2 separate regions of the Homo sapiens genome follow, and region 2 is linked to region 1. Evidence: promoter capture Hi-C in human tissues and cell types (Jung and others, 2019). All regions are on one chromosome and are shown on one strand. Each heading gives the region's core, a stretch centred on a gene start or on the middle of the fragment in contact. The rest is flanking DNA. Distances are from core to core; before and after follow the strand shown. Region 1 holds the start of CYB561A3 (cytochrome b561 family member A3). Region 2 holds the start of WDR74 (WD repeat domain 74).

The links. Contacts are between HindIII fragments. The study calls those that stand out against the background at their distance.
Region 2: a contact is called between the fragment with the promoter of WDR74 here and the fragment with the promoter of CYB561A3 in region 1, in 1 of the 25 tissues and cell types used here (stomach).

Annotation. Positions count from the first base shown.
Region 1 is chr11:61,360,285-61,363,589 of GRCh38, reverse strand. It overlaps CYB561A3 (cytochrome b561 family member A3), which reads left to right and starts at 1,708. Exons shown (of 7, transcript NM_153611.6): 1 at 1,708-1,857. It overlaps TMEM138 (transmembrane protein 138), which reads right to left and starts at 1,216. Exons shown (of 5, transcript NM_016464.5): 1 at 1,170-1,216. RefSeq lists enhancers at 1,198-1,687, 1,098-1,819, 1,938-2,157. The HindIII fragment of the contact is 8,596 bases long and covers 1-3,305 here.
Region 2 is chr11:62,837,852-62,840,920 of GRCh38, reverse strand. It overlaps WDR74 (WD repeat domain 74), which reads left to right and starts at 1,331. Exons shown (of 11, transcript NM_001369450.1): 1 at 1,331-1,414; 2 at 1,493-1,599; 3 at 1,686-1,807. The coding sequence starts at 1,351. RefSeq lists a silencer at 1-7 and enhancers at 138-307, 938-1,077, 1,148-1,487, 1,548-1,667, 1,778-1,907. The HindIII fragment of the contact is 7,487 bases long and covers 1-3,069 here.

The DNA of each region.
Region 1 (3,305 bases), core at 459-2,958:
GTTGCAACACAGTGGCAGTTGTTTCTTTTCATCTATTCCAAGACCCACAAGTTGCTCTGGGGGTGTCCTATGACCCGCTGCTGTGCCAAATCTATAAAGAAATTTCAAAATGCTCTGGAGTGTTAGCGATTAAATTAGCATCGGTAAAATGTTTTGCAATTTATAAGCTCTTTTCATATTTCTAACCTTACGTAATCCTACAACCATCTTGAGAAGTAGCCATTACAATGTATATTATCCCCATTTTACACAGAGGCTCCGGAAGGTTAAGGCACCTCCTCCACCTCAGCTGGTGAAGTCCCACCTTATTGGACATATGTTCGCGGTTTCCTCATTCATTAAATTTTAGAGAGAGAGAGAGTGTCTCGCTCTGTCGCCAGGCTGGAGTGCAGTGGCATGATCTTGGCTCACTGCAACCTCCGCCTCTCGGGTTCAAGCGATTCTCCTGCCTCAGCCTCCCAAGTAGCTGGGACTACAGGTGCGTGCCACCACGCCTGGCTAATTTTTTGTATTTTTAGTAGAGACGGGGTTTCACCATGTTAGCCAGGATGGTCTCGATCTCCTGACCTCGTGATCCTCCCGCCTCGGCCTCCCAAAGTGCTGGGATTACAGGCGTGAGCCACTGCGCCCGGCCGCATTAAATAACACTGATAGCTACTACCTAGGTACTCACACCACGATAAACTTGTCAACCAAGATCGTTTCCTTTAATCCTCCCTACAAGTCTGCAAGGTGGGAATTATTCCTATTCTACAGGAAAGGACACAGAAGTCAGAGCTCAAGGCATTCCTCCAGGTCTCAAGTCAGCAGAACCCGGCTTCATAACTGTGACGCCAAACCCGTGCTCTTAACCACTACTCATAGGCCACCATCCAGGGCTGTTTTGAGGATCCGTTATGCAGAAACGCCCATGCCTGTCTCTACGTACGACGATCCCCTCCAGTTTAGGGCAGTGGAGACTCACAAGCTCATGAAGCTCTTTAATTCGTCCACCGCTACCTGCCGCCTTCCCTTTGTACCTAGGGCAGTATTCCTCACGCTTCCCAATCCACTTAAAAACGAGGCTTCCTTGGCAAACAACAACAAAGCATAAAACCCAAGCCCAAAACAACAGCACCAAAAATTCTGACTTCTGGTCACTTAACCCACTCCTCGTCAATCACTCTCACCTCCAAACTCCAACGTCGGTTGTCATGCGGACATCGTCCCGGCTTCCGGAAGCCGGCTTTAAATTCCGGAAGTAAATGGAGGAGGCGGGCCCCGTCTGCGCCGTGCGGCCTGCTAGTCCCCGGCTTTCTCTTCCCGCTCTATGGCCAGTCTGGCCGCCATGTTGGAGCTTTCGCTGTTCGGGGCCCGGCCTGCTCCGGGCCCTCCCAGCGTCGCCGCTAGCTGACTTAGGGCTCCCGCCCACACTGCGCACGGCCTTGCTGAGGGCCGGCTCGTAGTGGGAGGCTTCGCGTTCACCTGAACATTTCCGCCTCCTCTGGATGGGGGATGAGAGGCGGGGCTGATGCATCGCAGCAGTCCTGGACCCTGACTTCGGACTTGGAGAAGAAACGCCGAGGAGGAACGGGAGTTAGGGGGTTAGCAGCTTGGCGCGCTGGGAGCCGGCCACCCCTGGTCTCCGGACTTCACTTCCCAGGAGGCCTCGCGCGCGACTGGAAGTGCTGCGAGCCTATAAGAAGGCGAGGCGGCACCCGCCGCTCTGCTCTGGGGCGGCATTGCCAGCCGGCTGTAGGCATTCAGGGCAGTGTCTTCTGCATCTCCTAGGAACCTCGGGAGCGGCAGCTCCGGCGCCTGGTAGCGAGAGGCGGGTTCCGGAGATCCCGGCCTCACTTCGTCCCACTGTGGTTAGGGGTGAGAAGGATCCCGGGGCTGGGAGTTCAGGGACCTGGGTTCGAATGCTGGTTCCGCTGCTATCTCGCTTCGCACTGTCGCGATCCCCTTGCTCGGCCTCAATTTTCTCTTTTAGAAAGTGGGCACCTTTCTCCGCGCTCTTCCTTCCAACGCGGTGGTTATAAAGGCACGAAAGCTCTTCAGAGGACGCAGAAAGCACCTGGAGCTCCTCACCCCAATTTTCACCCATTGTTAGCTGGCACGAGCACCCAGCAGAGGAGTCAGGGATCACCCCTCGGGTGCCTGGAACGGTTCTTTGGACACCTGAGCCGGACCTAGGCACAGCCTGAAGTCGGGGTCTATAATTATTCCGGTGCTAAGGGGTAACTTGTTCACCTACCTCCTTGGCAGGAATATTGAGCCCTTCACTCCTCATGTTCCGACTTTAACAGAAGCTACCTTTGAGAATAAGGAATCCTCAGAGCTGAGAGGGAGTGGACCCGAATTCCTGTACCAGCTCGGCCACTTACCTTGGCTAAGTCATTTTCTTGTTTTGGGCCCCAGTGTCACAGTGTTTTTGATTTGTAAGATGAGGGTTTAGGGCTTGTATCCTAAATCTGGTCCTCAAGATTCTTGAAGTCCCCCAGTCCATCGGGGAGGGAGAGCAACAAACTGATTTTCTACCCCTTCATTTATTTGTAGTTCTAAATTATAAAAGTAACACTGCAAGAGTTTGGAGTAGAGCCTTTTTCTTTTTCTTTCTTTTTTTTTTTTCTGAGACAGAGTCTCACTCTGTCGCCCAGGCTGGAATGCAGTGGCACGATCTCGGCTCACTGCAACCTCCGCCTCCCGGGTTCAAGCGATTCCCCTGCCTCAGCCTCCCAAGTAGCTGGGATTACAGGCGCCCGCTACCGCGCCCGGCTAATTTTTGTATTTTTAGTAGAGACGGGGTTTCTCCATGTTGGTCAGGCTGGTCTCGAACTCCTGACCTCATGTGATCCGCCCGCCTCGGCTTCCCAAAGTGCTGGGATTACAGGCGTGAGCTACCGCGCCCAGCCTGCGTAGAGCCTTTTTCTAAGACTAAGGGCTGGATGGGAACTAGCATTTCTTACCCCTGGATGTGACCTGTTTTAGCTCAGCCGGGAGAATCCTTTTTCGCAAGAAGTTAATAATATCTTGTGACGTGAAAATTATGTGAAACTCAGACTTCAGTGTCCATAAATAAATATTACTGGAACACAGCCGTGGTGCTCATTTGTTAAGATGTTTATGTGGCTGCTCTTGCATGGGCAGAGTTGATGACATAGTTGTGACAGACCATGTGCTCTACAAAGCCTAGAATATTTACTACCTGGACCTTTACAGAAGAGCTTGCTGACTGCTCCCTTAGAATGGGGCTCTGCAAAGTGAGCACACCCTGGGATCACAGCCCAGCCTGCCCTTAGAACAAATGAGAGGATATTTTCAAG
Region 2 (3,069 bases), core at 82-2,581, 1.5 Mb before region 1:
GAGCCACCGCGCCCGGCCTGGTTTCGCGTTTGATGTGTTAAACCTAGGTCGCGCTCGGGGTTTCAAGCGTGAAATCCTAGCACTTCGGGAGGTTGGGGCGGGCGGATTGGGTAATTCCAGCCTGACTAACATGGTGTGAAAAATCCCGTCTTCACTAAAAAACCAAAAGAAAAGTGAATCAGGCCTGGTGGCGGGCGCTCTAGCCTGAGAGACAGAGCAAGATTCCATCTCAAAAAATAAATAAATCTTCGCGTTAGATAAAGGGTTTACTTGTAAACTGGTAATTTGTTGCTTTTCTGTGTTAATCTCTAGGTAAAGTAGCGACTTCCCTCTCCTATTTACGCATGCGCTATTACTGTATTTCTACTGAGCGATGACTTTCTCTGCGTTTCTCATGTAGCATAGCACAGAGTACTTTTAGTTGTTTTTGTTTTTTTTTTTTGAGACGGAGTCTCTGACGCCCAGGCTGGAGTGCAGTGGCGCAATCTCGGCTCACTGCAAGCTCCTCCTCCCGGGTTCACGCCATTCTCCTGCCTCAGCCTCCGGAGTAGCTGGGACTACAGGCGCCCGCCACCACGCCCGGCTAGTTTTGTTTTTGTATGTTTAGTAGAGACGGGGATTCACCGTGTTAGCCAAGATGGTCTCGATCTCCTGACCTCATGATCCGCCCGCCTCGGCCTCCCAAAGTGCTGGGATTACAGGCGTGAGCCACCGCGCCTCGCTGTCCGCCTCTTGAAGAGTAAACGAGGCCGGGCGCGGTGGTTTAGTAATACCAGCTGTAATCCCAGCTACTTGGGAGGCTGAGGCAGAAGAATCGCTTGAACCCGGGAGGCGGAGGTTGAGGTGAGAGGAGATCGCGCCATTGCACTCCAGCCTGGGCAACAAGGGCGAAGTTCTCTCAAAAGAAAAAAAAAATCGTCGGTTTCCTTTTCCCATCTTTCTTTCGTGACTTATATTCCAGAACGAAGCCCCACACATCATTAATGATTTGAATCGTTTCTAAAGTGTTTCTTAAATCGTTTCTTAAATCGTTTGTTGTTTCTTGTCTAACAGTCCAGAACACATATTACATAATGGAGCCGGGAGACAGACTAGGGCTGGCTTGATCCGGCCACGCAGTCCAGGAAAGGTGCTTTTCACCCCCAAGTGCAAAATGATCAATGTATTCTTCCGATCTACATAAACAAGCACCTCCTGGTTTCATTTTCGTAAAGCAAAACAAGCATGGAAGCTTTACTGTTTCGGCTCTTCAAACTTCCAGCAACTACACTGCGCTGCATCGGACTCGACGCCCGCTGGTGACGCACACGCTGCGCCGGAAGTGTGAACTGTCTGCCTCCAGGCTTTGTCATGGCGGCTGCTGCTGCACGCTGGAACCATGTGTGGGTCGGCACCGAGACTGGGATCTTGAAAGGTGGGTGGCAGGCTCGGGCGTCGGGAAGTGCAGGGGTGCACTCGCGCCCCTGGCGTGACTGACGCCTTCGTCTCTCAGGGGTAAATCTTCAGCGAAAACAGGCGGCGAACTTCACGGCCGGAGGACAGCCGCGGCGCGAGGAGGCAGTGAGCGCCCTGTGTTGGGGCACCGGCGGCGAGACCCAGGTGAGTGGCCCCTGGTCGGGCCGGAGCTGGGGGCCTGGGGCGCAGCAGCCTCGCTCTCCTCGCCATCTTGCCCTTCTTTGCCGCAGATGCTGGTGGGCTGCGCGGACAGGACGGTGAAGCACTTCAGCACCGAGGATGGCATATTCCAGGGTCAGAGACACTGCCCGGGCGGGGAGGGCATGTTCCGTGGCCTCGCCCAGGCCGACGGGTAAGACCAATCCCCTCGCTAAACTCAGGGCCGAAGGGAGAGCGTTGATGCTCCCTGAGGATACTGGAATGATGGCGACAGGCAAACTCTTAGTGACACGGCTTTGAATGGGTGACAGGGACCTGGGTTTCTGCCTTATGTAGTTCATACCTGTAACACACATTTATTGAACACCTACTGAATTCCAGGCACTGGGAGAAGTACAGGGGCTGCCGGTAAAATTTCTGCCTTCAAAAAGTTCTCATCCTCTAAGGTTTTTCACCTGACTCCATTATAATCCTCTAAGTAACCATGGGCAAGTCATTTAATAGTTTTGTGTGTGTGTGTGTTTGTTTTTTGTTTTTTTTTTTTTTGGAGACGGAGTTTTCGCTCTTGTTGCCCAGGCTGGAGTGCAGTGGCGCGATCTCGGCTCACTGCAACCTCCGCCTCCCGGGTTCAAGCGATACTCCTGCCTCAGCCTCCCAAGTACCTGGGATTACAGGCGTCTGCCACCACGCGCGGCTATTTTTGTATCTTTAGTAGAGACGGGGTTTCACCGTATTGGCTAGGCTGGTCTCGAACTCCTGACCTCAGGTGATCCACCTGCCTCGGACTCCCAAAGTGCTGGGATTACAGGCGTGAGCCACTGTGCCTGCTTGTCATTTAATAGTTTTAAGCAAGGCTGGGTGTGGTGGCTCATGCCTGTCATCCCAGCACTTTGGAAGGCCGAGATAGGTGGATCACTTGAGGTCAGGAGTTCAAGACCAGCCTGGCCAGCACGGTAAAACCCCTTCTCTACTAAAAAAATACAAAAATTATCCGGGTGTGGTGGCTCATGCCTGTAATCCCAGCTACTTGGGAGGCCGAGGCTGGAGAATCGCTTGAATCCGTCCCGCAGAGGTTGCAGTGAGCAGAGATCGCACCAGTGCACTCCAGTCTGTGAAACAGAGCAAGACTCCATCTCAAAAAAAACAACAAAAAAAGTTTTAAGCATGCATTCATTAATTCATTATTAATTCATTTATATTTTTTGAGACAGAGCCTCACTGTGTCACCTAGGCTTGAGTGCAGTGGTGCATTCATGGCTCACTACAGCCTCAACCTCCCGGGGTCAAACGATCCTCCCGCCTCAACCTCCTGAGTACCTGGGACCACAGGCAGGTGTCACCCTGCCCAGCTAAATTTTTAAGTTTTTTATAGAGATGGGGTCTCACTGTGTGCCCAGGCCAGTCTCAAACTCCTGGGCTCAACTTGAGCTCAACCACCAACAAGGTGATGTAGCT